Linked DNA regions of Homo sapiens: regions 1, 2, 3, 4, 5 and 6 are each linked to region 7. The links are contacts of gene promoters, found by promoter capture Hi-C in blood cells and fetal thymus (Javierre and others, 2016). All regions are on one chromosome and are shown on one strand. Each heading gives the region's core, a stretch centred on a gene start or on the middle of the fragment in contact. The rest is flanking DNA. Distances are from core to core; before and after follow the strand shown.

The links. The method cuts DNA at HindIII sites, captures the fragments that hold promoters and counts their contacts. A CHiCAGO score of 5 or more calls a contact.
Region 1: a fragment that was not itself captured here is called in contact with the fragment with the promoter of MROH9 in region 7 in 4 of 17 cell types (M1 macrophages, M0 macrophages, M2 macrophages and 1 more); the score reaches 6.3 in M1 macrophages.
Region 2: a fragment that was not itself captured here is called in contact with the fragment with the promoter of MROH9 in region 7 in 3 of 17 cell types (M1 macrophages, M2 macrophages and M0 macrophages); the score reaches 6.8 in M1 macrophages.
Region 3: a contact is called between a fragment that was not itself captured here and the fragment with the promoter of MROH9 in region 7, in 1 of 17 cell types (total CD4 T cells). The highest score is 5.1, in total CD4 T cells.
Region 4: a fragment that was not itself captured here is called in contact with the fragment with the promoter of MROH9 in region 7 in 12 of 17 cell types (naive CD8 T cells, naive CD4 T cells, non-activated CD4 T cells and 9 more); the score reaches 16.6 in naive CD8 T cells.
Region 5: a contact is called between a fragment that was not itself captured here and the fragment with the promoter of MROH9 in region 7, in 6 of 17 cell types (M0 macrophages, M1 macrophages, naive B cells and 3 more). The highest score is 7.3, in M0 macrophages.
Region 6: a contact is called between a fragment that was not itself captured here and the fragment with the promoter of MROH9 in region 7, in 10 of 17 cell types (M2 macrophages, M1 macrophages, non-activated CD4 T cells and 7 more). The highest score is 11.8, in M2 macrophages.

What each region holds. Positions count from the first base shown.
Region 1 is chr1:170,030,873-170,034,659 of GRCh38, reverse strand. It overlaps KIFAP3 (kinesin associated protein 3), which reads left to right. Exons shown (of 20, transcript NM_014970.4): 7 at 164-288; 8 at 2,676-2,774. Among named protein-coding and RNA genes, the nearest start is that of KIFAP3, 42 kb to the left of the region's middle. The HindIII fragment of the contact is 763 bases long and covers 1,451-2,213 here.
Region 2 is chr1:170,068,579-170,072,269 of GRCh38, reverse strand. The region is part of intron 1 of KIFAP3 (kinesin associated protein 3); the gene reads left to right. Among named protein-coding and RNA genes, the nearest start is that of KIFAP3, 4.3 kb to the left of the region's middle. The HindIII fragment of the contact is 677 bases long and covers 1,863-2,539 here.
Region 3 is chr1:169,978,890-169,982,486 of GRCh38, reverse strand. It overlaps KIFAP3 (kinesin associated protein 3), which reads left to right. Exons shown (of 20, transcript NM_014970.4): 15 at 390-515. Among named protein-coding and RNA genes, the nearest start is that of SCYL3, 87 kb to the right of the region's middle. The HindIII fragment of the contact is 8,043 bases long and covers 1-3,597 here.
Region 4 is chr1:169,939,610-169,943,550 of GRCh38, reverse strand. The region is part of intron 19 of KIFAP3 (kinesin associated protein 3); the gene reads left to right. Among named protein-coding and RNA genes, the nearest start is that of SCYL3, 48 kb to the right of the region's middle. RefSeq lists an enhancer at 1-2,296. The HindIII fragment of the contact is 5,755 bases long and covers 1-3,941 here.
Region 5 is chr1:169,997,803-170,001,465 of GRCh38, reverse strand. All of the region lies in intron 10 of KIFAP3 (kinesin associated protein 3), which reads left to right. Among named protein-coding and RNA genes, the nearest start is that of KIFAP3, 75 kb to the left of the region's middle. The HindIII fragment of the contact is 5,762 bases long and covers 1-3,663 here.
Region 6 is chr1:169,957,779-169,961,699 of GRCh38, reverse strand. KIFAP3 (kinesin associated protein 3) reads left to right here. Exons shown (of 20, transcript NM_014970.4): 18 at 465-654. It also overlaps the pseudogene RN7SL269P. Among named protein-coding and RNA genes, the nearest start is that of SCYL3, 66 kb to the right of the region's middle. The HindIII fragment of the contact is 2,319 bases long and covers 738-3,056 here.
Region 7 is chr1:170,934,259-170,938,047 of GRCh38, reverse strand. MROH9 (maestro heat like repeat family member 9) reads right to left here and starts at 2,514. Exons shown (of 22, transcript NM_001163629.2): 1 at 2,461-2,514. The HindIII fragment of the contact is 7,245 bases long and covers 2,425-3,789 here.

The sequences.
Region 1 (3,787 bases), core at 583-3,082, 900 kb after region 7:
ATAATCGCAAGTCTTCCTAGTGTATTGTGGATATATTCATTTATTAAAATATGTATATCAAATTTATTTTCTACATGGTTCGTACCAGTGATCACCAAAAACAAATTTCCTGTACCCATAAAATGTATTCTTTTAAATATATATTAAAATGTCTTCTTTAAAGCTTTTCTCAATTTCATGGACTTATTACTCACTATAAAATTGGAGCTCTGTGTATGAATATTATTGATCATGAGTTAAAAAGACATGAGCTTTGGCAAGAAGAACTCTCAAAGAAGAAGAAAGCTGATATCCTTTTAGAGTGGCATTTGAACCGTCTGTTGTCTTTTGCTTTAAGTTTTGGATGGGTGGGATGGTTTTGTTCTTTTTTCTTTTTTAAAAATTGTTAATTACATTACTTGGAAACAATGCAGGAGTGTGTTATTGAAGGTTAAGAAGTAGATTGAAACTATCAAAATGAATACAGTTTGATATTCACTTTTTGTCTCTTCACAACCTTTATTAGTTAATGAGGTAGAAGGAGCAGGTAATAGTTGTGTCGGGTAACTTAGTAGGTGAGCCTCTAAGTGGTTACATCATTACATCCACTAAGATCCTTTGGTTAGTTGAAGCCTGGCCCACCACTGCTGCTTATATACTTCTGTGTGAGTACTAAGGTGACTTTGATTAGAATGGGTGTAAATTTGGTGATGAACCTAGTTAAAGGTTCTATTTTTCTAGGAAAGTGCAAAAATACTGTTGTTAATAAATAAAAATTTGAAAGGCCTATAGAATAATAGAACCTGTGAAAGGAAACTTAGGTATCTGTTTTAACCTATCTTACAAATATAAAAATATTTCTGCAACTTCCCTGGCAAATGCTATTACATAGGCTCCTCTTTAACAATGTCAGTGTTTATTTATTTCACCCATTCTGTGGTTTAGCATTCTGTTTATTATAATAGTCTTTTGCTTAGTGCACTGAAGTCCATTCCCCAATAACTTCTATCCATTGGTTCTAGTATTGTATACTAAAGCAATATGGAATAAGGCTATTCTCTTCAACATCATAATTCTTCTCATATTTGAAGATATTTATCATATTTTAGCCTCTAAACTCAATGCTTCTAGATCAAAGGCCCCTGGTTTATTCATATCTGTTCAACCATGATATGTTTTGCAGATCAACTAGGCATGCTGGTAACTTTCCTTTGAATCAAGTGTTTATTATGTCTTTTAAAAAGTGAAAACTTTATTCCTATTTTGCAGAATATCATACATTTTTAACTCTGCTTTGTGCAAAAGTGGACCTTACTTTTATATTAATTTTGGCCTCTGGAAACCCTGAGGCTTCAATTTAATCTATGTTGTAACAGGTTAATTCAGGTTATTGTGTACAAAATCTCTCAGGCTTTTACTGTTGTCACATGGAACTCCAAGACACTATAAAATCCACACCCACACACAAGCTTTGACTTTTCTTAATTAGAATCTTTTCAGGTTTATAAATTTTCTATGCATACCATAAACTTCTGGCATCTAGATTGATAGTGACTCAACTACATCAACAACCCAAGAATCCTAGAGACTTTACATCAGTTCTGGAGTCACAAGACTCCTGAATGCTTCAGTGGTACCCAAAATTTATTTAAACTGGAGAAGTATGGAGGGAACCACTAGTGGAACTCTTTAGCAATCATGAATTTGCATTTTGTTATTGTTTGGTGACAAGAACTGATATCTTAGGACATATTGTATTTCTGTATCAGACACCATTAATTTTAAGATTCACTATTGTTTAAGTGCGAGGAGAGGAACATATGCTTTCAATTAAACTATGACACATCAGGGATTATAAGACACATCCAGTTTTGGAGATGTTAAGATGTGAGGAAAATGTATCTTAGACTCAACAGATTATGGTAATTGAAGGGATATAAAAATGACATCAGAATTCTGGTCATTTCTCCTGACATGTTGCTATTTTATTATGTCCTAAATTTCTTTGTATTTTGATACAAGTGGTATTCAACAAGGTCAGCTGCATTGACTCATATTCTGGGGTCATATGCTTGACTCATATGCTTGGGGATACTGAAGTAACTGATTATTTTTGCAAGAAGTCCAGAGGACGATTTGGGACCAGAAGATGTGATTTTTAAAATTTGTTTACCTTTAAGTTTGGGTTAGTTCTTTCTTGGCATCTCTAGTCTGAAAAGGCTGCTACAAAAGCTTTAGATTTAATCTATATCCTTTGAATATTCTGGGCATCTGTCTGAAGTAAAATCCAGTGTTCTTAGTAACTAAATCACTTTCTGAGGCAGTAATTTTTTTGGTTCGTGGACCCACTTGATAATCTGTTGAAAGTTATAGACTTGTGCACCTATATAAAATATTCACATATAGTTTCTGGGAATTCAAGTATTTGGTGAGGTTCAAATATCTATATGATGTTAGCTGTGGGCTACATAAAAAAGTTTGTTCACCCAAAGACTCCCAGGGAATCCATGAGCACTTAAATAAGAAGTGCTGTTACAGCACAGTTATTATGCAGATAACATTTTAGTTAAACTTTTGGTGAGAAAAATAACTGGATAAAGTTGCACATAAAATTTAATAGTGCCATTGTTCATAGAATTTATCAGTAGATTTTTTTTGCTTCAATGAGTATGGATGATCCTTAACAAGTTGTTTACTTGATGAAGACCCTGAAAACCAAACCTTGAGAAAGGATTATGAAAAAACCTTTAAAAAGTACCAGGGGCTTGTGGTAAAACAGGAACAGCTATTACGAGGTATGAATTCCTAAGCAATGAGGAAAGCAACAAAGTACTTACTCCAAATACATTTGTTTTGTTCACTTTTTATCATACCTGTAAAGCTAATGTGAGAATAGCTGAAAGTTCTATAAATGTTAATATGCTACAAGTTCGTCTGTCTTTAGCATGGGTAATGTTTTAAATTTCACTCTACTATTTTTCCCCATTTAGTTCCTAAATGTTTGTATACTTATTATTTATTTCCTAAGAAAGGATTTTTTAATCCAGTGTGTGACCTTTTCAATAATATCAATCTTTGTCTCTTCAGCCCTAACTTACTTGTTTTATAAAGTGAATTATTTTGTTGCTTTCCTAGGAAATTGATATAAACATTTTAAAATATTTCTCTTGTTTAATAGAAAAGAATTCCTTGTCTCTAGCTTTATTAAGATATTTAAAACTTCAATAGTATGGTTTCTTGGTTACTGATAAGATGTAAAATCTTATGGTGGTTAGTGATAATGACATGGGGCTTTTAAGTGTGAATTTAAGTCCGGATTTATACTTGACTATTTGATGATTCATGTAGTTTATTGGTGTTTGACTAACTTTGTACATGGAAATACTTGTTAACTCCCAAAATATTTTCATCCTGTGAAGATTAGTAGCAATTTTAACTACACTGAGTTTTTTAAATATTTGAAGCCAAGTAATTTAGTTCAACCTGTTGGAGAAAATGTCAGATTTTCAAAGGTTCATTTTAAAATATGCTAGAAAATAATAGGTATTATCTGTGTTAGCATATAATCCAAAATGCATCAGATCTCAAGAAAGCAATTGTTTTCATGTAAAAGTTTCAAAGAACTAATTTGACTTTTTTAACATGCAAAACTTTAAGCTCTGTTTCTAACCAAATATTTATGCAAATATTGTATACTCTCTTAACAGCTTTATTGAGGTATAACTGATAGACAATAAACTGTATAGTTTTAAAGTATATAATTTGATAAATTTTAACATATGTAAATACCCATGAAATAATGACCATA
Region 2 (3,691 bases), core at 952-3,451, 870 kb after region 7:
CTGAAACATAGATTATTAAGTAAAGTCAGAATAAGACTAGAAAGAAATATGAGCCAAATCATATGGGACTTAAGCGCTTTAGTAAAGAGTTGAGACTTTATTTTGAGTGCATTGGTGAACTATTGAAGGATATTAAAAGTGAACAACATTTGTTCATTCATTTAATAGTTGAGATTCTACTGTGTAAAAGTCATTAAGCCAAGTGATAAAACATATTTGGTAAATGAAACATAAATATATTCCCTGCCTTCATGGCATTTACACTCTAGCAAGTAATACAGACTTTAAAATATACTGATATTTATTGTATTTATGAGTGCTATATGAAAAAAGTGTGTGGCTTTTGTGTCAAGCATTTCTCACATGGTATATCAAGGTCCATCTGTGTGGTAGCATGTATCAGTACTTCATTCCTTTATATAGCTGCATAATATTTGCTGTGGTTTGGATATAGTTCGTTTCCACCAAAGCTCATGTTAAAACTTGGTCCCCCATTGTGGCAGTGTTGGGAGCTGGAGCCTGGGAGGTGTTTCAGTTTTGGGGGTGGATCCCTCATGAATGGCTTGGTGCTGTTCTTGCTGGAGTGAGTGAATTCTTGCTCTAGTGAGACTGGATTAGCTCTCTTGGGAATGGATTAGTTCCCTCTAGAGTTGGTTGTTATAAAGCCAGGAAGACCCTTGGGTATTCTCTTTTCTCACTTCCCCTTTGATCTTGTCCACTGTGTTATAATGAAGCACAAAAGCCCTCACTGGAAGCCAGAGTCATGCCCTTGAACTTCCCAGCCTGCGGAACTGTAAGCTAAATAAACCCCTTTTCCTTATAAATTACCTAGTCTCAGGTATTGTGTTATAGCAACATAAAATTGACTAATTCAGTATTCCATTTTATGGATATACCACATTTTGTTTGTTTATTGCTCATCTGGTGGTGGACATTTGGGTTGTTTCTACCTATTGGCTATTGGGAATAAAGCTGCTGTGAACATTACTGTACAAGTTTTTGTTTGAACACTTGTTTTGTATCTTTTGGTGTATACCTAGGCCTGGAATTGCCAGACCATATGGTAATTCTATGTTTAATTCATTGAGGAACCACTAAAGTGTTTTCCCTAGTGACTGCACCATTTTACATTCCCACCAGCAATGTATAAGAATTCAGTTTTCCGTATCCTCACTAACACCTGTTATTTTCTGTTCTGTAATTATTACTATACTAGTGGATATCAAATGGTATCTTATTTTGGTATTGATTTGCCTTTCCCTAATTACTAATGACATTGAGCTTTTCATGTGCTTCTTGGCCATTTGTCTTTATTCTTTGGGAAAAGGAGTTCTTTGTAATAGAACCTTGTCAGATACATGATTTACAGATACTTTGTCCCATTCTGTGGGTTTTCTTTGCACTATCTTGGTATGTAAAACTTTCATATGCAAACATTTTTAATTTTGGTGAAGTCTAATTTATTCTTTTGTTGCTCATGCTTTTGGCATCGTTATTTAAGAAACCACTGCTAAATCCAAGGTCATGAAGGTTTGTCCCTCTGTTTTCTTCTAAGAGTTTTACAGTTTTAGCTTTTACATTTAATATCCTTGATCCATCTCGAGTTAGTTATTGTCTATGGTATATGGCAAGGGTCCATCTTCATTCTTTTATATGTGACTATCTAGTTGTTCTGACATCATTTGTCAGAACAAATGTCAGAAAAGAACAATTGACTGTTCTTTTCCTCCATGAATGGTTTGGGCAATTTTTTTGAAAATTAAATGACCAAAAATGTTGGGGTTTATTCCTGCACTCTCAATTATATTTCATTGATCTATCTGTCCGTGTGCTAGTACCTCACTGTTTTGATTACTGAAGCTTTGTAGTGAGTTTTGAAATCCAGAAGTGTGAGTCCTCCAACTTTGTTGTTCTTTTTCAAGGTTGTTTCAGCTATTTAGGGTTCCTTATATTTCCATTTGAATTTTAGGGTTGGCTTTTTCATTTCTGCAAAAAAAGCTATTGAAACTTTGGGAATATAATGAATCTATAGATCACTTTGGGGAATATTGCCATCTTAACAATATTAAGTCCTTCAGTCCATGAACATGTGATTTCTTTTCATTTAGTTCATATTAATTTCTTTCAGCAACTTTTTGTTTTCAGTATACAGTTGTTCCTTGGTTACGTTTACTCCTGAGTATTTTATTCTTTTTGATGCTATTGGAAATGAAGTTTTCTAAATTTCCTTTTCATATTTTTCAGCTCCAATATGTAGAAAAACAGTGGATTTTTTTGGTGTGTTCTGATCTATTCTCCAACTTTGCTGAATTTATTAGCTCTAGCCAGTTTTTTGTGCCATTTTTAGAATTTTCTATATATAAGATTATGTCTTCTGCAGATAGAAATAATTTTACTTCTTCTTTTTCAATCTGGATGCCTTTTTATTTTTTTTTCCCATGCCTCATTGCTCTGGCTAGAATTTCCAGTACTATGTTGAATAGAAGTCAGGAAAGTGGATAAACATTCTTGTCTTGTTCCTGATCTTAGGGGGAAAGCTTTCATTCTTTCACCATTGAGTATGATATTGGCTGTAGATTTTTCATATATGCCCTTTATTATGTTAAGGGACTTTTCTTCTATTCCTAATTTATCAAGTACTTTTATCATGAAAAGATGTTGGGTTTTGTCAGATGCTTTTTTCTGCATCGATTGAGATAATCATGTACTTTTTTTCTTCATTCCATTAATGTGGTGTATTGTATTGAAATGCCCATGTGGCCATGTTGCGTGGTCCTTTTAATATACTCCTGTATTCTGTTTGCTAGTATTTTGAGGATTTTCACATCGACATTCATAAAGGGTATTGGTCTAAAGGTTTTCCTGTAGTGTCTTTGTCTTGCTTTGGTATCAGGGTAATGGTGGCCTCATGGAATGAATTAGGAAGTGTTTCCTCTACTGTTATATCTTTTGGAAGAGTTTGAGGGGTATTTATGTTAATTTGTCTTTAAATGCTTGGTAGAATTCACCAGTGAAGCCATCTGGTACTGGACTTGTTGAAAGGTTTATGATTACTGATTCAATCACCTTACTTCTAATTCTGTTCAGATTTTCTGTGTCTTTTGAGTCAGTTTTGGTAGTTTGTGTGTTTCTAGGAATTATTCTTTTTCATGTAGGTTATCCAATTTGTTGGTGTTCATATTATTCTCTTGTAATTTTTTAATCATCAAAAGAGCAGCAGTAATGTCCCACTTTCATTTCTGATTTTAGTAATTTGAGTCTCTTCTTTTCTTTTTTAGTCAGTCTAACTAAAAGTTTTCCAAAAATGTTTGTTGATCTTTTCAAAGAACTAACCTTTGGTTTCATTTTCTCTATTCTTTTTCTAGTCTCTGTTGCTGCTTTTTATTATTTCCTTCTGCTAGCTTGGGGTTTTGTTTGCTCTTCTTTTTCTAGCCCCTTAAGGTGTAAAATTAGGTTATTAATTCAAAATCTTTTATTTATTTTTTTAAATAGAGCGTCAGTATAGAGTGTCTTATTGTGGATCTGTTTGAGTTTATCTTTGAATTTCATTGAGCTTCTTGGATGTGTAAGTTTGTCTTTGGTCTAATTTGGGAAGTTTTTGACTGTTTTTTCTCCCAGTATTCTCTATGTTTCTTTCTTCCTCTCCTTTCATACCCTCATTATGCATATGTTGGTATACTAGATGGTGTTC
Region 3 (3,597 bases), core at 57-2,556, 950 kb after region 7:
CCTATTCTACCTTTCTTGTGGTCTTTTGGTATTTTTTTATTCTGTCTCTTTAAAATTACCAAATACCATCCCTCTGCATATACATAAACACGCACAAAGGTCTTTGAGGCATTCAAATGAGTCTTTTATTTTCTGTGTCTATGTTGTCATTCAGTTGTACTCTCAAAGGCTCATTTCCACTTTTCTACTGCCCCCTGCCCCCACTATCACAAACTGTCATCAGCAAACATGGAAATTTGGAAAAAGGACAAATTTATAGCATATCAAGGATTCATATGACTTGATTTAATAGCTTTCAGTATCCTTTCTGTGTATTTACATTTTGATACTCTAAATGAATTTGGATCAGGACATTTCAGTGAAAACTTTCTATGGTTTGACTTCACTAGGTGCTGCAGAAGATGATCTTGTTTTAGAAGTGGTTATAATGATTGGAACTGTATCCATGGATGACTCTTGTGCTGCATTGCTAGCCAAATCTGGCATAATCCCTGCACTCATTGAATTGCTAAATGGTAAATAACCTTAATTTATTTTTATGTTAATGTCTAAACAGCTTATTGATTTAAATATTTAAATATAAAATGCAGAGTCTGTAATCTGTTTTTCTCATTACATTAATTGTTTCATAGCAACTTATATAATCAAGAAAAATGAATTAAATATACTGCTAACTGGGATTGGATAGAGTAATATCAAAGATCTTTAGCTTTCAAAGTTAAGAATGTTGCTGTAAAGCAGTTCAGGACCAATTTTACAGAAGTACTCTCCTCACCAACCTTGAACAACCAATATAGTAGTCACAACTTAATCAAGGGGAATACATTCCAAGACCCCCAGCAGATGCCTGAAACTACAGATACTATCAAACCCTATATATACTTTTTTTTTCTAAACATACCAATGATAAAGTTTAATTTATAAATTAGGCACAGTAAGAGATTAACAACCATAATTAATAATAAAACAGAAAAATTATAACAGTATGCTTAGCATCACTACTCTTATACTTTGGAGCCATTATTAAATGAAATAAGGGTTACTTGAATACAAGCATTGCAATACTATGCTAGTGGACCTGATAACTGAGATGGCTACTAAGGGACTAATGGGCAGGTGGCATGTACATCCTGGATACACTGGACAAAGGGATGATTCATGTCTTGGATGGGATGGAGTGGAACAGTGGGAAATTACATCACACTATTCAGAATTGTGCATAATTTAAAACTTATGAATTATTTCTAGGATTTTTCATTTAATATTTTTGACCATGGTTGACTGCAGTTAACTAAAACCATGGAAAGAAAAACCACAGATAAGGGAGGACCACTGTATTATATCACTTCTTTTTGTTTGTTTGTTTGTTTTTGTTTTGACTTTTTGAGACATAGTTTTGCTCTTGTTGCCCAGGCTGGAGTGCAATGGCATGATCTCGGCTCACCACAACCTCCGCCTCCCGGGTTCAAGCGATTCTCCTGCCTCAGCCTCCTGAGTAGCTGGGATTACAGGCATGCGCCACCACACCCAGCTAATTTTGTATTTTTAGTAGAAATGGGGTTTCTCCATGTTGGTCAGGCTGGTCTTGAACTCCCGACCTCAGGTGATCCGCCCACCTCGGCCTCCCAAAGTGCTGAGATTACAGGCGTGAGCCACTGTGCCCGGCTATATCACTTCTTTCTGTTGAGATTTGTGTTGGTTTGAATTGGATCTCTTCTCTTGTGCAAATCTTATTTTTTAAAACTTGATTTCTAAGTTGGAAGGTCCATTTGGAAGCTGATTCTAAACATCATATTCCCTTCTAGATCCGAATTTATTGTCCTCTGAAATTTCTTAGTTGATGAAAATGTTCTATATATGTGGTGTCCAACACATGTAGCTGTAGAACACTTGAAATGTGGCTGTCACAACTGATAACCTGAATTTTTGAATTAATTTAATTAGCTGCAGTGGTTTATGGCTACAATATTTGACATTGCAGGCCTAGAGTTTTCCCCTTGCATTTATATTACTCTTAAGGGGCAGGGCTCATTCTTCTCCATATTGCATACAAAATTTATCTGAATCTTATTAGGGCCAAGTTCTCTAGGATCTTACACATCATAACTAGCGAATAGTATAGAAGTTAAAAATGCTAATATGAGATCCCTGAAGAAGATACTCTCATCTCAGTTCATCTTGTACTAGGCATAATATATGTGCATTTTGTGTTAATTTTAATAGACTTTTCAAATATGTAATAACATACATAAATTGTAAGTATAGCTCAATGTATTTTCAGTGTAAGCATACCCATGTTATTATCACTCATGTAAGAAAATAAAGCATTACCAGTACCTTAGAAGTGCCTCTTCTCCCTCCTCTCAGTCATTACCACCTCCTTCAAAGTGGTTAGTTTGAACAAAAGATAGTTTATTTTGTCACCACTAGATTAGTGTTGCTTGGTTTTGAACTTTAATATATAAGTGGAATCTAGTTTATTTTGTTCTACCTTATATTTGTGACATTCATCTATGTTGTATACAAAAGTTTGTTCATTTTCATTGTTATGTATAATATTTTATTATATAAACATACCACCATTTATCCTTTCTACTACTGATGGATAGTAGAGTTAGGTTTTTGTGGGGGGGAGGACTATTATAAATAATGCTCCTATGAATATTTTGAAACCTTTCATTTGGTGAACATATGTACTCATTTCCATTAGGTTCACACGTAGGAGTAGAATGGCTGGGTCACAGAGTTTGTATGTGTTTGGCCTTAGTAAACTATGCCAATCTGTAGTTCTGCTGGTTTTCATTCTTACCAGTAGTGTAAGAGAGCTGCAATTTTTCCACATCACCTCCAATACTGGGCATTGTCAGTCCTTTCAATTGTAGCCATCATACTGGTATTTCATTGTGATTTTAATTTGTATTTCCCTAATGACTAATGAAGTTCATCACCTGTTTATGTTTATTGATTATTTAGGGATAGCCAGTAAAAAGATGTGCCTATTTAAGCCTTTTGTGCATTTTTCTCTTTTGAGTTTTTTTAATTTAATTTGTAAGTTCCTTAATATAATTCATTTTAATAGGTCATCTAGAGATAATGCCCCATATTTGAAGTATTCCTTCCCAAAATTTTAGCATATTTGTATTTACTTTGGTACACTCTTCTCACAGTCAGTTTTCAGATCAGAAATAATTAAAAGAAAGACTAAGTAGTTGGGAGGTAAAAGTAAAGACACGTAGTTGATAGAGTGAGAATGAAGATTTTGTGGAGAGCTGAAGAAAGTTGAAGCAAAATGACCTGCATCCTGGAATTGCTGTCCCATAGTGATTATAATCAAGAGAGCTAAGATATTCATAAAGTGATCTGACACAGCCAGCTCAGAGTGTTTTACTATGTTTTGGTGTTCTCTGACATGAGATTATCACAGGCAGAGGCTTTATAATACTCTTTTTAAGAAATATACAGATTTTCAAGATTAAAACCATTGGTATTAAGTGAGGGAATACTGTATACCAAGATAGTAATTAATAGTGAGAAATTTAGCCCAATTTGTTTGGGAGAGTAGTACTTTGGCAAGTTAGTGAGGGAGATCATTTGGGA
Region 4 (3,941 bases), core at 64-2,563, 990 kb after region 7:
TTGGTTAATAAGCATCACTATTCCCCCTTAAAAAAATAAGGGAGAGAAATAGAGCATGTCATCTTTTATTTCCTTTAAATATGAGTGTAATGATATTGAGCTTACTCCTTAACTCAGGGATATTTTCTAATTTAAGGTAGATTTAATCTAGCCTATTGTTGTCTTGATTGATTTAACAATGTAATTTAACTATTTATGAACAGTTGTTAGATTTCTTATATTAGAAATATTAGATATTTTTTCTAAGATATTTGTTTTTTAAGAAACAGCTAAAACCTAGGGCCTACAGGTTTTCAAATGTAATTTTAAATGTAATATTAATTCCCATAATCTCCATATTGCCCATAGTCTTTACAGATGTGCTATTACAAATAGCTTACTCCTCAGATATGAGCCATATGGGCTCTGTAAACTGATTTGCACTTATTCTGAATAGGAATTATACAGATTGTAGATGAATTATTAAGTAAATTTATATTACCAAATAAATCTAAGAATAAAATATTAAGCTGTATTAAATGAGAAAGGAATCTGCAAATGAAGACCTACCTGCGTTAATAAGTTTAGTGGTTACCTTCTTGGTTTCAATCAAAAGAAATTAGTTTTTTGTTGTTGTGTTTTTTAAAGGGGTGGGGGGGGGCGTCTTTAAAACTGCTTACGGAAGTATCTAAGACAAAAACAAGGAAATATAATGTTATAAACTCAGCCAGTCCAAACCACTTGAACTGCTATGACAGCTCATAAAACTGAGAGTAGTTTTTAACTGGGCTCTGTTCTACATTGCCAAAGTGAATTTTCCTTGCAGGAAGTAGCCAGAGGGTTTATTTAGTTTCCAGTCCATGGCTTTGATCTTTCTGTACTGTCACATCTTGGGTTACATAGCCCTTTTTCACTGCAGTAAATCTGCAGCAGTTAATGAGAATAAAATTTCCTCCTTACTGATCACATTCTGTTGAATGCCAAACCACAGCCAACTGCATATTTGCAGAATTTCAGCTACAATGTATGAAAACAGCACAATCAGTTTAATCTTGTTTTCTTTGCAATTCATTTTATTGGGCTTTCTTCCTTTTCAAGTGACCTACTTTATCCAGTCAAGTGGTTGCAGGCCAAACTTGGAAGAAAGATTTAAAATGTGAATAAACTAAGAGGAGAAGGTGTGCAGGAGGTGGGCCAGGGGAGGGCAAGTGGAAGTCCGTCTGCACTGCCGTGAAGATTCCAAGACTCCATAAATTGAGTTTATTTTAATCCTTTTTAAAGACCAAGCCTTTTTTTCTTTTTTCTCCTCAAATAAAATAAAATGGTTTGTTATTTCTTTAGTTATTTTGTATGTTTAGTTTCAACATAAGTTTGTACTTACTGAGTTTATTTAATGAGTCATAACATTATTTTTCAGTTTTCATTATAGAGAAGACACCACAGTACTTAAGGAAATTTAAGGGAATTTCAAGGATTTCAAAAAATTGAAGTTTCACTTTATAAGAGCTCTTCTTAGAGTAAAAATAACATTGTTGTTAACACACACTATACCATCTTATCAAATGGGTCCTTACAAACATAAAGGAAATACTATGAATATGTTGAATAAATCAATAGAATTTCAAAATCACATTTAAGCAAGCTGAATTTTATACATTAATATGTGCATCCTCATAGTAAAGTACATAAAGAATCATATTTATTTTCTTTTTTGTTACAATGAAACCTCTCAATTGAGGCATTAATTACCTGATTCAGTTAATACAGGTTAAATATATTTTTTACTTACACCTCTTATCTTTTCTACTGCTTTGTTTTTGTGGTTGGCAACTGGAAGTTAGCAACTTCTTTGTCAAGAAATTCACCCTCAGGGGGCCATCTTGGGTGATAGTCATTGATAAATATATTTTATTGTATATTTATATTAGGTCAAATTTATATATGGAAATATGAAATTTTATAAAATAAATCAAAAAAGGAAATCAGCTTATATTTTCCCAGAAGATTGAAGTCACAGTTACTGTTTAGCCATCTAATTTCACAGAAAAAATTATTCTCATCCTCATAAAAATCAAAATGTTGAGATAAAGAAAAAATATGTAATATTTATTGATTTAGACAACTACCATAAAAGCAATAACCAAAAGTGTATTGAGAACTCAGAAGACTGTTTCTGAATTGGGGACAGTAAAGTCAGATCTCCTGATAAAAAGAGGATCCACTTTTGGGGAAATGCCTGTTGTTAGTTACCCCAATACAAGAGGAGGGTAAGAGGAGTGGTTTGAACATTTTAAAGGAAAGAGGTGCAGCACTCACAGGGCCTTTTCAGAAGGTATTAGGTATAATGTTAGAATGTTGAACTTTCAAAATGTAGCTTATACTCTTAGAATTGTTTTCAAATAGACCTATGTCTACTTAAATTGTAACATAATAGTTTGCATGTGAAAAAAAGATGAAGATGAAAACAGAATTTTAGACTTTATCTGAGGGCCTTTTCTATAGTTTGCTTCTTCGTTTCTTTGCAACTTTAAATCTGCCCAAAATTCTAACCTTGCAAGTCCACAGAAAGTTTCTTCATGAAGTAAACATTGTTTTCTTCAGTTTTTGTTGTCTTTAAACACACACACACACACACACACACACACACACACACACACACATAATTCTTAAACAAGTGCAACTGCTCAAAAGAATTTGTTTTGGGGACATGAACAGTCCAGTAGAGTTTTAAATGAAACTGCTGGAAAGGAGTAGAAACAATGCTGACTTCAGTGACATACACAATCTTTATTCTAATTGTATTATTTTAAATGGTATTCTCTAAATCAGGGGTCCCCAACTCCCAGGCCAGTACCTGTCCATGGCCTGTTGGGAACTTGGCCACACAGCAGGAGGTGAGTAGCAGGCCAGCAAACCTTACTGCCTAAGCTCCACCTCCTGTTGCATGAGCAGCGGCATTAGATTCTTATAGGCGCACAAACCCTATTGTGAACTCTGCATGCTAGGGATCTATGTTGTGTGCTCCTTATGAGGATCTAACTAATGCTTGATGATCTGAGGTGGAACAGTTTCATCCCAAAATCGTCTCTCCTCCCCCATGTATGGAAAAATTCTTCCACACAACCAGTACCTGGTGCCAAAAAGGTTCGGGGCTGCTGCTCTAAATGGTTTCAGATCTATGTACAATATGAGATAGATGGACCAATAATGATGATGGCAATTATTGAAATATATTTAGTGAGTTCCAGGCAGTTTATGAATTGCTATTTATTACATCCCTTATCTAATTTACTCTTCACAACAGCTGAAGAAGGGAGACACTATTATTAAGAAAACTGAAGCATGTAGGTTTAAGCAACTTACCCCAGGTTATCTTGCCACCACTCAATCAATAAACTATTCTTACCTTTGCCCACCTTTCTTCTATTACAATGAAAGAAGTTTTTTCAAAATCCAATAAACCCATTTTTACTCTAGACCCCATTCTTGTCTTTTCAAGGACTTCTTTTATGTTGTCACTCTTTTCCCCTTTACTGGATCATTCCTGTCAACATATAAACATAAATCAGAATCTGCAAAGTTAAACTCTTTGGCCCCACATCATATTCCAACTGCTTCCTGTTTCTCAATTCCCTTTATCCAAAACTTCTCAAAAGACTTGCATGTGCTCTTCAACTTCCCCACTCTTGTCAAAATCACCAATAGTCTTCATATTGCCAAATCTAATGGACCATTCTCATCTTTACCTCTCAGCTGGTTTTGACACAGTTGACCAGGCCCTGCTTTTTGAAACTCCCTTCTTTCAGCTCTCAAGATACCCCATTTTTCTGATTTTCCTCCTAAGCCCTTTGTCATTTCTTCCCAATGTTCTTTGCTGGCCATTCCTTCTCTTTTCCACATTTAAATGCTGGTTACTTCAGGGCTATATCCCTGTTCTCTATCCATACCCTGTTTTGGGGGAC
Region 5 (3,663 bases), core at 284-2,783, 940 kb after region 7:
CTTGAAGTTATTAATGGCAGTAAAATTTATGCTTCCTCCTGTTTTCCCAATTAAATCAAGAAGCCTTTTTTCTTAAGATTCTTCTGTCACCAGCTGGTTCCAATACTGTGTGTGTGTGAATATTGCCTAGGGTGTCTCCATTTCTAGATGGTAAAATTTGGCCAAAGCATATTAAGTCAATGATTTGGACATACAGGCTAGAAAGCAGTCATTGTTAAGGGCTTTATTTTGATCCTTATCATTTGTACCACAAGTATGTGTATTCTTTAGATCTTATTGCAAATAACTTGTATTCTATGGATGTAATAAAAATTCTACAGAAGACATAATAAAATAATTGAAGATATGATGAAAAATAAGCTGTGTGGCAAAATGTACAGTTGTACATACTAAAACAAATGAAAATCTATCAAAAATGTTCTATATAAGAGTACTCATTTAGTGACTATCTCTAAAAACAATGTTTAGCTTACTGGTAGATCTGCAATGTTAGTTTCTCATACTTTTAAAATTAAATAATTGGACATAAAAAATTACTTATCCGTGAACCACTGTACCTCAGAAACTATTGTTGTACTTAATGTTTTCATACTGATCTTTGTAACCTATAAATTATGTTATTTTTTCCCCTTAACTGTTGGTTAACAACTGTTGGTTTTTATCTGTTCATCTCAAATCTCGACTATAGACAAATATATTATAAAAGAGATCATCCAATGTAGTTACAGTCTTAAACATTGGTCTGTGCAAATTCAAGTTTAAACTAAGGCTATCTGTTTATATTGAGTATATATCTGCAGTATATGCTCTAATAAGTTAAGCATAAAATTATATGGAAACATGTATCAAAGATGTTCTGATATAGCTTCAATGTGTTTTTAGTCTATGTCAGTGTGTAGTTAACATGTTCAATAATTGTTGCAATTATCTTTTAAGTGGTGGTTTTCACCTGTGGCATTTTCACTGTATTGATAGAACTTTAGGGGCTCTCACTCCGTAATAAATGTAAAGACACCTGCAAATTTTGAAGCACGTTGTATTCATATAGACTTTCCAGGGGTAATATATCACCTTAATGCTATTCTATCCTAATATAGGTGTGCTTATATTCCCACTTCTATTATCTTTTCATGGAGCCTCTGTGACATCAAAGGGAGTGTTCCACTTTGAAAGAAGAAGACATAGAGTATAGAAGGGAATGAGAATCTGGCTAATAATGTGGCCCATAACTTGTGTTCTCACTTTGTTTTCACAGTGTTGGGCTGGATCTACTGCAGAAGCGGAAATTTGGCTTTTGAGTTCTCATGTTCAGAACTCGTATTTCTGCTTGACTGAACTGTGAATGAAAAATCCCAAGTGTCTTACAAAATTAGTAATTGAATGGTGTTTTTACTGATCACTTCACAGATGAAAAAACTGAAGACATTTTAAAATTCAAAACCCATCAGCATGTGTTTTGCCCTTTAATTGGCAGAAAATCGATTGTGAGAGCAGCCCAGAGAGCTGATAGTTTTTTCTCCTTCAGCTGCTCCAGCTGAACTACAGCTGTAAATTTCTTTAAAAAGAAAAAAAGATGCAATGTTTCTTATAAACTCTTGAATGTACTTTATAAGTGCAATAATTCCCACAAAATCAGTTACTGGAGTTAATGACCAGTTTGTTAAGGCATTAACTGCCCTCAGCTGGGAATGACCAATTTGAGGGGAATGGCTGCACAAATGCTAAGATAATTCAGTAACACTTTCAAATAATGATCCAGCTAATTAACGGTGAATTCCTGTGGAAATCCTATCGAAGTACTTATGACCTCTGCGTTTAATAGCCAGTGAGTTCATCATGATTCATGTTTATTACCATAAATACCAAAGGAATCATAATGACTAGGCCATTTTTTTTCTACCCTGCCCTTATTACTTGAACAGATTTAACTAATCCACCTCCAGTCATTAAGAACCTAGTTCTCAAGATACTCAGTCTTTTCACTGCCCTTGCTTAAAATTCACAGTCTTTGGTGCTGTGCCAGCATGCTGACTGTTGGCAGCCTGTTTTTACTTGGGATGCCGTTAGGGAATAATTGATGTCTTTATGTCTTAAAGGAGCCTTTTTGAAATGTCTACCATTTGTAGGATGTAGAGGAATCATAGCCGGTTAGCTACAGTTTATGGCTTCTAGTCATGAATTCTTACGAGAAAATCATACCCTCCAATCCTCATTTCTTGTAGGAATTCACTTAGGGTATATAAGATTTTTTTTCTTGAGCTTTATTTTGTAAGAACTCAGATGTTCTTTCTTTCAGTGAATGAAGAAGACTATTAGTTTACAATAAAAGATAAGCTCTTTATTTTACTTAGACCATTTAATCTCTCTAATAGCTGTTTATTGCTATGTGATCTGCAAATTAGCCTTTAAGTCGTAATATTAAATGTTGGCTGCCAAAGAGTCTTTACTTTCTTTGCAGACCTGTGTTTGAATAGATGAATTCAGGTTATTGCCAGACATCTTCCCCCTCCACGTACTCAATTTTGTTCTAAAATGCCTTGTCTTTTTGTTGTAGGTTCCAGATATCTGCTAGATGCCGTGAAGTTATAGGCTGCATTTTTATTAAGTATTGATTATTTATGTAATCATTTATGATTCAGTGAATAAGATACATATGGTTTATATACTGTAGTCTTCATATATTGAAATTATTTAGAAGAGAAAGAAAATATGTGATTTGTAACTGTAGGATAGAACTAGAATCATCAAGATAATATGTGGGTAACAAGACCGTTTATAAAATATTTACGTATTTTTCTGAATAAAAGGCCAAATGCCAGTTTATATCTTTTTCATTCCCTAATTACAAAAAGGGGGGGAATTAAATTTATAGTTATTTGTAAATCAGTTGTTTAAATTCTAGGGGAAACTTTACTCACATAAAATCCAGAAGACACATTAGCAACTTGGGTTAGAATATTATAGTCCCTTAGCTCTGTCATCACCTCCTTTCACACTGTTTCCTCAAGAAAAAAAAAAAGTGTGTGTGGTGTGTGTGTGTGTGTGTGTGTGTGTGTGTGTGTGTGTATATATATATATATATATCTGGTGAAGCACTAGTTGTAGTCCGATTTCTTTTGTTCAGTTGTGTTCAGCTAAAACATGGGGAAAACACCTCTGTCATATAGGTTTTATTTGCCTGGGACATGCTGTTTAAAGGTAAATGAAACAGGGTAGCTAATTGTGAGGTTTCTCTTCAGTGTCCTCAGACTTCTGTCTGTTCTTTCGTCTGCTTGATAGCCCATCATCTCCATGACTGTTCCCCACTTTAAGAGTGAAAGTAAGTTCTGTTAAAAGAAGGAAACCTGAAAGGATAAGAGATTTCTGAATGTGTGTGGAGGGGGGTATTGAGAGGGGATCATTTTCTTTACTAAAGTTTTTTTTTTTTTCCATTAAGGGATTTATAACTCTATGAGAGTGAGAGAATGATGATGGGTTCTTATTACATATGGGTCACTGAGTAGAGCCTCAGGTATAAGATGATTCTCCTAAGCCTAAATTTTATGAACAGCAGAGTTTTTTTTTTTTTATCCTTTTTTTTTTCTTTTTTTTTTTTTTTTGAGACGTCTCACTCAGCTGCCCAGGCTGGAGTGGAGTGGTACGATCTCGGCTCACTGCAACCAC
Region 6 (3,921 bases), core at 648-3,147, 980 kb after region 7:
TTGAGTAGGCTGAGGAGGAGAAAGAAGAGGAGGGCTTGGTTTTGCTGTCTCAGGGGTGGCAGAGGTGGAACAAAAATCCGTGTATAAGTGGACCTGTGCAATTGAAATCCATTTTGTTCTAAGGTCAACTTTAATTATAGTCACAAGAACTCTTTGGAAACTGAAGTCTTACTGCTCGCTTAAATTCTGGCAATATTTATGTAATATTAAATAAGAATTTATGAAATTTAAACTTTTCTAGTGTTTGCCATTGCCATTAGTGATCGATAATACAAACACAGACTTCTTTATGTATGTAATTGCTTTTTGTTGGCTATTATATAAAATAATCCTGAACAGGTATTTGTAGTGCTTCCTCTGACCCAGTGAAGGGCCCCCAAAATTCTCAAGAGATAAAAATATTGCCGTCTGAGTGCCAAGTGAGTTAGCTTATATAATAACAGTTGACTGTTTGTTTTCAATAGGAATATGATGAAGAATGGGCTAAGAAAATTCAGAGTGAAAAGTTTCGCTGGCATAACTCTCAGTGGCTGGAGATGGTAGAGAGTCGTCAGATGGATGAGAGTGAGCAGTACTTGTATGGTGATGATCGAATTGAGCCATACATTCATGAAGGAGATATTCTCGAAAGACCTGACCTTTTCTACAACTCAGGTGATAACCAAAGCGAAAGTAAACAGTTTATTATATGCTATGAATAGAGATTTTAGTCGGCCAGCCTTGCACATTCCCAAGCTTAATAAGCACTTCTTTTAGTTTATGAATGGTCTGCTAATGATTTTAGATGTAACGTCTATATATAATAAGCAAACCTATTAACTTACCATTTTTTTTTCCAAGTTAGTCTTTGATGGAATCTCCCTAAAACGCTGTAGCAAGGAAAATTAATTGTTCTTAGATGTTTATTAATTGCTAGAATGTGTAACTTAAATGGACAACTTCAAGATTTCTGACTTCCGTTCAAAAATGTAATATTCATTTTTCTTCTGCATTTATTAAATGCATAATTTATTCATCATTTGTTTTCCAAGGTATTTAATCTTAACAGTTTAATTTTGCCATGGTTTTGCTTTAGTTTCAAACTACCAAACTCTATATGGTAACTTTGGGGACGATTTAGGCACTTTAGAGTAATTGTTTATTCTTTCTAAACTATGCTAATGTTTTTAAGGTAAAATTTAATATTTATGTAAATCTTACATGTATTATAACCTTTTTGATTCTGCATTACTACCTTTTTCCAAGGATGAGTTTGACACAAAGATTGGTAAGTTTTTGCATATTCCAGCTCTCACTGTTTTGTACTGTTGCCAACATTAATATTACTTCATTGAAGTCATTTAGTTGAGGAGAGGAAGGAAAGGATTTCTATAATAATTAAAATCTCTAGCAAGTTGAAGATAAAAATCATTAAGGTGATTATATCTGAATTAGTGACTCACCTTATTTTCTACTATGTGTTTCTACTATGCATTTAGTGTTCTCAATATATGTTCTCTAAATATTTTGTGTATTATCTCATTTTATCTGAACAATTTGATCAATGATTGGATGATTATGTAAATTACTATTACATCTGATCACTGTACTCACATTAATAATACCACTCACACTTTCATTCATGTGTTTTCTTAATTGTGTATTGTGCAAATTTTCCATAGATATTATGTATTATTTTTTGTATTTGGTATAGATACTTAAATCATGGAAAACTTATGCTTTACTCTGAAAATCAAATAGATTTCTTCCTAACTGAACTTTACAGTAGTTAAGAAATGCTGCTTTGTGTTTCAAACCAGATGGAGTAGATCATTAATTTCAACCAAACAGAATTTCTTAGTTCAGTAATGGCAAACAGCTGTTCCTTACATATTCAGTATTCATGAAGTAAGATGATATAAAATATATATGATGTGAATTTTTTTAATAGAAATCAGAATATTCTTGGAATCAAGTTTCTTGCTTTGAAGATTGATAGCTAACTTTCATAATGAATCAATTACCAGTTTCCAAAACCAGATAAAGCTATTAACCACCTCAGTATTCATCATTGTTGTTTTAATACAATTAAAATTTCAAAACAGATTTCTAAACAGTTATACCACATTTCCAAAATTAATTTAAATTAACCTCTTAAAGTGAAAATCCTAAATATTTTTCTGATACTTTTTAATTACAATGTATAGGTTATGCTTTTGTGAGAAAACAGTTATGTATATTTTCATACACCAAAACTTAGAAACATTTAGGTTTTTTTAATCTATAGCCTGATGATATGATAGACATTTGACAGTAGAAATTACATGCTGTGAGTCTAAAACTAAATTTCTTATAGCAAGCAATTTTTTTTAGTTTAGTAATTATTTTACCTACATCATTTTCCATGGATAGTCCATGGACTAAATGAATCCCTGTAGCATTTCTTGATGTGTCTCATGGAAATCTAGATAATATCAGCCTCCTTTCCTTTATTGTGTATGATTGTAGCATCAGAAAACGTCAGATAAATTTGTACTCCTGCAGATTTGTTTGAATGCTTGAGCCATGTTTTTAAGCCTCTGCGTCTCCCTGAAAATTTAGGCTGTTTCTGATAAGAACAGCTTTAGCAGCTTTTCAGCCACAGAGGTTAAACTGAGAGGCTCGTAATTCCCTGGGTCTTATCTTTTACTTTAAAATGAAATGGCATGTGCTATTTTCTAGTCATTAGCATCATTCTCTGTATTTTCAGACGATTTAATAGTCAAATGTATATGATTCTCCCATGTTTTTTAAAAAAAAATCTTAGTATTATGTGAAATACAAAACTAGCATCTCCTTTAGTTACAGTATTTTTTACTTAGTCTAAAATTATTGTGATTGTAGTCATTAATTAATGTCCTTTGCTATTATGAAAATGAAGCTGTTTGCTTTAGTACTTTTACCCATAGAGGAAATATTTTGTCATTTATAAAGCCGTATTGCTACTACATATATCTAAATGACTTTTTATTTTTTAATTGTTCTTCATTAATTTTAGTGAATCTTAGTATGTGAATGTATTACTGGAATATGAAGCTTAAAATGGTTTGTTCTATCTCAGGAATATTGTAAAAAACATAGTTTTCATACTACCTATGTATTTCTGTGATGTGTCTTGTAAAGTATAGTCAAATAAATTATTAATAAGATTCATCATTTTAGTTATTTCTTTTTCTCATACTCTACACTATTGACATCTATTTTCTCCCATACCGTCACAATTTCACCTTTAGCTAGTTCACCAAAAAGCCCAATATTATATTTTCATTTGACTTTAAGAAATAAAAAGAGGTCGGGCATGGTGGCTCACAGCTCTAATGCCAGCACTTTGAGAGGCCAAGGCAGGAGGGTTGTTTGAGGCCAGGAGTTCAAGACTAGCCTGGTCAATGTAGTGAGACCTCGTCTCTACCAAAAAAAGAAAAGAAAAAGAAATTACCCAGGCATAGTGGCATGTGCCTGTAGTCCCAGCTACTCAGAAGGCTGAGGTGAGGGGATTACTTGAGTCTTAAGAGCTCTGGATTATAGTGAGCTATGCCAATCGGGTGTCCCCACTAAGTTGAGCATCAGTATGGTGACCTCCTGGGAGTTGGAGACACCAGATTGCCTAAGGAAGGGTGAACTGGCCCAGATCCAAAAGGGATTAAGTCAAAACTCCCATGCTGATCGGTAGTGAGATCATGCCTGTGAACAGCCACTGCACTCCAACCTGGGCCAATTATTAATAGCAAGACCCTGTCTCTTTAAGAAAAAAAGTTGGCCTGGCACAGTGGCTCATGCTTGTAATCCCAGCACTTTGGGTGGCCAAGGCAAGTGGATCACTTAAGGTCAGGAGTTCGAGACCAGCCTAGCCAACATGGTGAAACCCCGTCTCTACTGAAAATACAAAAATTAGCCAGATGTGAT
Region 7 (3,789 bases), core at 1,265-3,764:
TCTGCAATACAAAAGATCCCTTAGTGTGTCTCTTAGTATTACTGTGTCCTGTGATTAAGATCAATGGAAAACTACAACCACCCAGTGCAGGTAGGACTACTAGTGACCCAGACCTTTATGGATCACTTTAGCAGGTAAAGAACCACAAGCAGCTGAGGTGCTTACTGAAGGCAAAGAAACTACAGAATGTGTAGTAGAAAAAGGGAGTTAAAAATACTGATTATGGGCCGGGCGCGGTGGCTCACGCCTGTAATCCCAGCACTTTGGGAGGCCGAGGCGGGCGGATCACGAGGTCAGGAGATCGAGACCATCCCGGCTAAAACGGTGAAACCCCGTCTCTACTAAAAATACAAAAAAAATTAGCCGGGCGTAGTGGCGGGCGCCTGTAGTCCCAGCTACTTGGGAGGCTGAGGCAGGAGAATGGCGTGAACCCGGGAGGCGGAGCTTGCAGTGAGCCGAGATCCCGCCACTGCACTCCAGCCTGGGCGACAGAGCGAGACTCCGTCTCAAAAAAAAAAAAAAAAAAAAAAAATACTGATTATGATGCTGTGATCAGTGCAGAAATGAAGACTGTAATAATTATGAGTATTTCCTTTTAATTTTGTTCTGAATACATTTCTTTGTGTATATATTAGATACCAAATATTTTTTCTTTTCTTATTCTCTTATCACATAATACAAAATGCAATGACTTCATATTCTAGTATTTAAGTATTGTTAATGTTACATCATAGTGTTTAAGTTACAGGACATCAAGGAAGAGAGTAAACATCACTGAAGGACTTTATCTCCTCCTCTGAGAAGGGTTTAGTGCATTTTCAGTTGTATGCAGGACATATGTTGGAACAGGAATTAAAAGAAATTAAAGAATGTGTAAGCAGAAACTCAGTTGTATGTAAGAAAACCCAATTCCCCAGAGAAAGAGAAAGAGCTGGAGTCCTTTAAAATTAACTGCCTGTTTTTCTGTGGCTAGTGAGCCTTATCTCTCCTCCTTTCCCAGGCATTGTGAAGACCCTGTTTCTCTAGCTGTGCAGCTGCAAGGTCACTAGACAGATAAACTCAAGTCATAAAACATGTTTTTCCTTGAAAAGTAAGAAATGATGTAATGCATGTTTCAATTAATTGAATAACTGTCTTTGTTTCTCACTTCTGTAATATGCTTCCCCCTACACAGATCTCCCCCACCCCACGAAATGATTAAAAGATAACTCTTTGTTCAGGGCTCAGTCCTTTGGAGGTTAATCCAACTGGGCCGGTGCACCTAAATAATAAATATCCTTCTCAACCCCATCGGTCTCTCTGATTCCTTATCAATCCCACTACATTTCAACATGTTAAATGGAATTATGAGCTTCTTATTGACTTTATTTGGAGATTAACTATGGCTTAAGGATATGTATATGGGTGCCAAATTTTCAACGTGGGAACTCATTATGGTTAGTTAATATTACGTGTCAAACTGAGTGAGCCATAGGATGCCCAGATATCTGGTAAACATTATTTTGGGGTATGTCTGTGAGGGTATTTCCAGAAGAGATTAGCATTTAAATTGGTGTTCTGATGATAGGAGATGACACTCCCTAATGTGGGTCAACATCTTCCAATCCATTGAGGGCCTGAATAAAACAAGAAGGCAGAAGAATGCTTAGTTTTCTCTTTGCCTGACTACTTGACTTGGGACACAAATCTGCTGCCCTCGGTGCTCTGGTTCTCAGATCCTCAGAACCAGGCTGGAATTTTTATCATCAACTCTCTTGCTCTCAGGCCTTCAAACTGCACCATTGGATCTCCTGGGTCTCTGTCTTGCAGAAAGCAGAATCCAGGACTTCCTAGCTTCTATTATTGTGTAAACCAATACCTTATAATAAATATATTTATCTATATAGTTGTGGTTTCTCTCATCCTTACTAATAAGATAATCCTTACTAGTAAGGCATGAAGTTAGGAGATTAATGAATAAAGACAAATTCTTCCAATTGCCAACTTTGGCAAGATTTCTGGATGAGGGCCCATAGTAATGTAATTTTCTTTTTCTTTTCTTTTTTTTTTTTTTTTTTTTTTTTTTGTCTCACTCTGTTGCCAGGCTGGAGTGCAGTAGCATGATCTCGGCTCACTGCAACCTCCACCTCCCGAGTTCAAGTGATTCTCCTGCCTCAGCCTCCTGAGTAGCTGGGATTACAGGCACCCGCCACCACACCCAGCTAATTTTTGTATTTTTAGTAGAGATGGGGTTTCACCAAGTTGCCTAGGGTGGTCTCGACCTCCTGACCTCATGATCCGCCCACAGCCTCCCAAAGTGCTGGGATTACAGGTGTGAGCCACCATACCTGGGCCATAACGTAATTTTCTAATGTATTCATGGTTCTTTTTCTTAACAGAACAAAAATTAAGAAAAGTAGTCAGGATTAGAAAAAAAGACAAGCTTTTGAATGACAGAAATATTAATAGGAATTCACTTACATATTTGTAACTTCTCTGTAATCACGGTGAGACAAAGTAGTGAAGAGAAACTCTAGTATATTACCTCTTAGCCAAAGGTAAAATACTCTAGGTAGTTATCAACCAAGCAAATTCTTTGAAATGTTGACACTCGTCATGGCAACCATATGTTTCAAAGATTCCATTCTGGAATGAATGTGGTAGAATGTCCTGGCATGCCCAAGTGGCTACTAATGCTCACCTGTCATTATTGAGGGGTGGGTAAGTTTCTGGTTTCTATGTTACAAGCACTGAAAGATAGTTCTTCAGACCAACAGTCCAGTAGAAGCTGGGCAAAGGATAAGAATAGAAAATTCACAGAAAAGGAAAACTGAATGGCCAATAAATATTTTAAAAGATTTTTAATCTCACTTGAAGTTATGAAAATACAAACCATTAAAATATTATTTCCCAGCTAATAAGTTAAAAAGTACTAAAATACAAGTAAAAATTAAAAAAAGATAATTTCAAATATTGGCAAAGATAAAAGAAAGTTGAACTTTCTCACACGACTGGTGGGATTATAAATGGATATAACTAGTTTGTAGAGAAACTTGTCAAGTTCTAGCAAAACTGAAAATCTACAACCCAGAATTTCCAGTTCTAGGTCCATAGAGTGTATAAACATGTATACAACTGATGCACTGAGAGACATGAAGGATGTTTATTGTAGCACTTTTTATAATAGAGTTATTAAAATATAATTCACATACCATAAAATTTATCTTAAAGTATATAATTCAATCATTTTAAATATATTTACAGAGGTATACAACCATCATTACTATCTAATTTTAGAACATTTTCATTTAGAACAAGCTCCAAAGAAACCCTGTACCTGTTAGCAGACATTCACCCTCCCTCTCCCCCAAGTACCTGGCAACCACTAATCTTCTGTCTGCCTTCTGGACATTTTATGTAAATAGATTTATACAATATGTGACTTTTTATGATTAGACTGTTTGGATTTTTATTACTGAGTTGTGATTTTTTAATATGTTCTAGATGCTAGTCTCTTATCAGATACATAATTTGCAAATATTCCTCCTTTTCTATGGGCTGCCTTTACATTTTCTTGACAGTGTCTCTTGAAGCACAAAAGTTTTAAATTTAAGTGAAATTTAAATTTGCCATTCTTTTTCTTTTATTGCTTGTGTTTTTGGTATCATAACTAAAAAAAAAGAAAAAGACATTGCCTGCATTCCCTGGCCCAACTTCACAGAGATTAGATTTAGAACTTTTCTAAGAGTTTTGTAGTTTTTGCCTTACATTTAGGTCTTTGGTTCATTCTGAATTAGTTTTAGTATATAG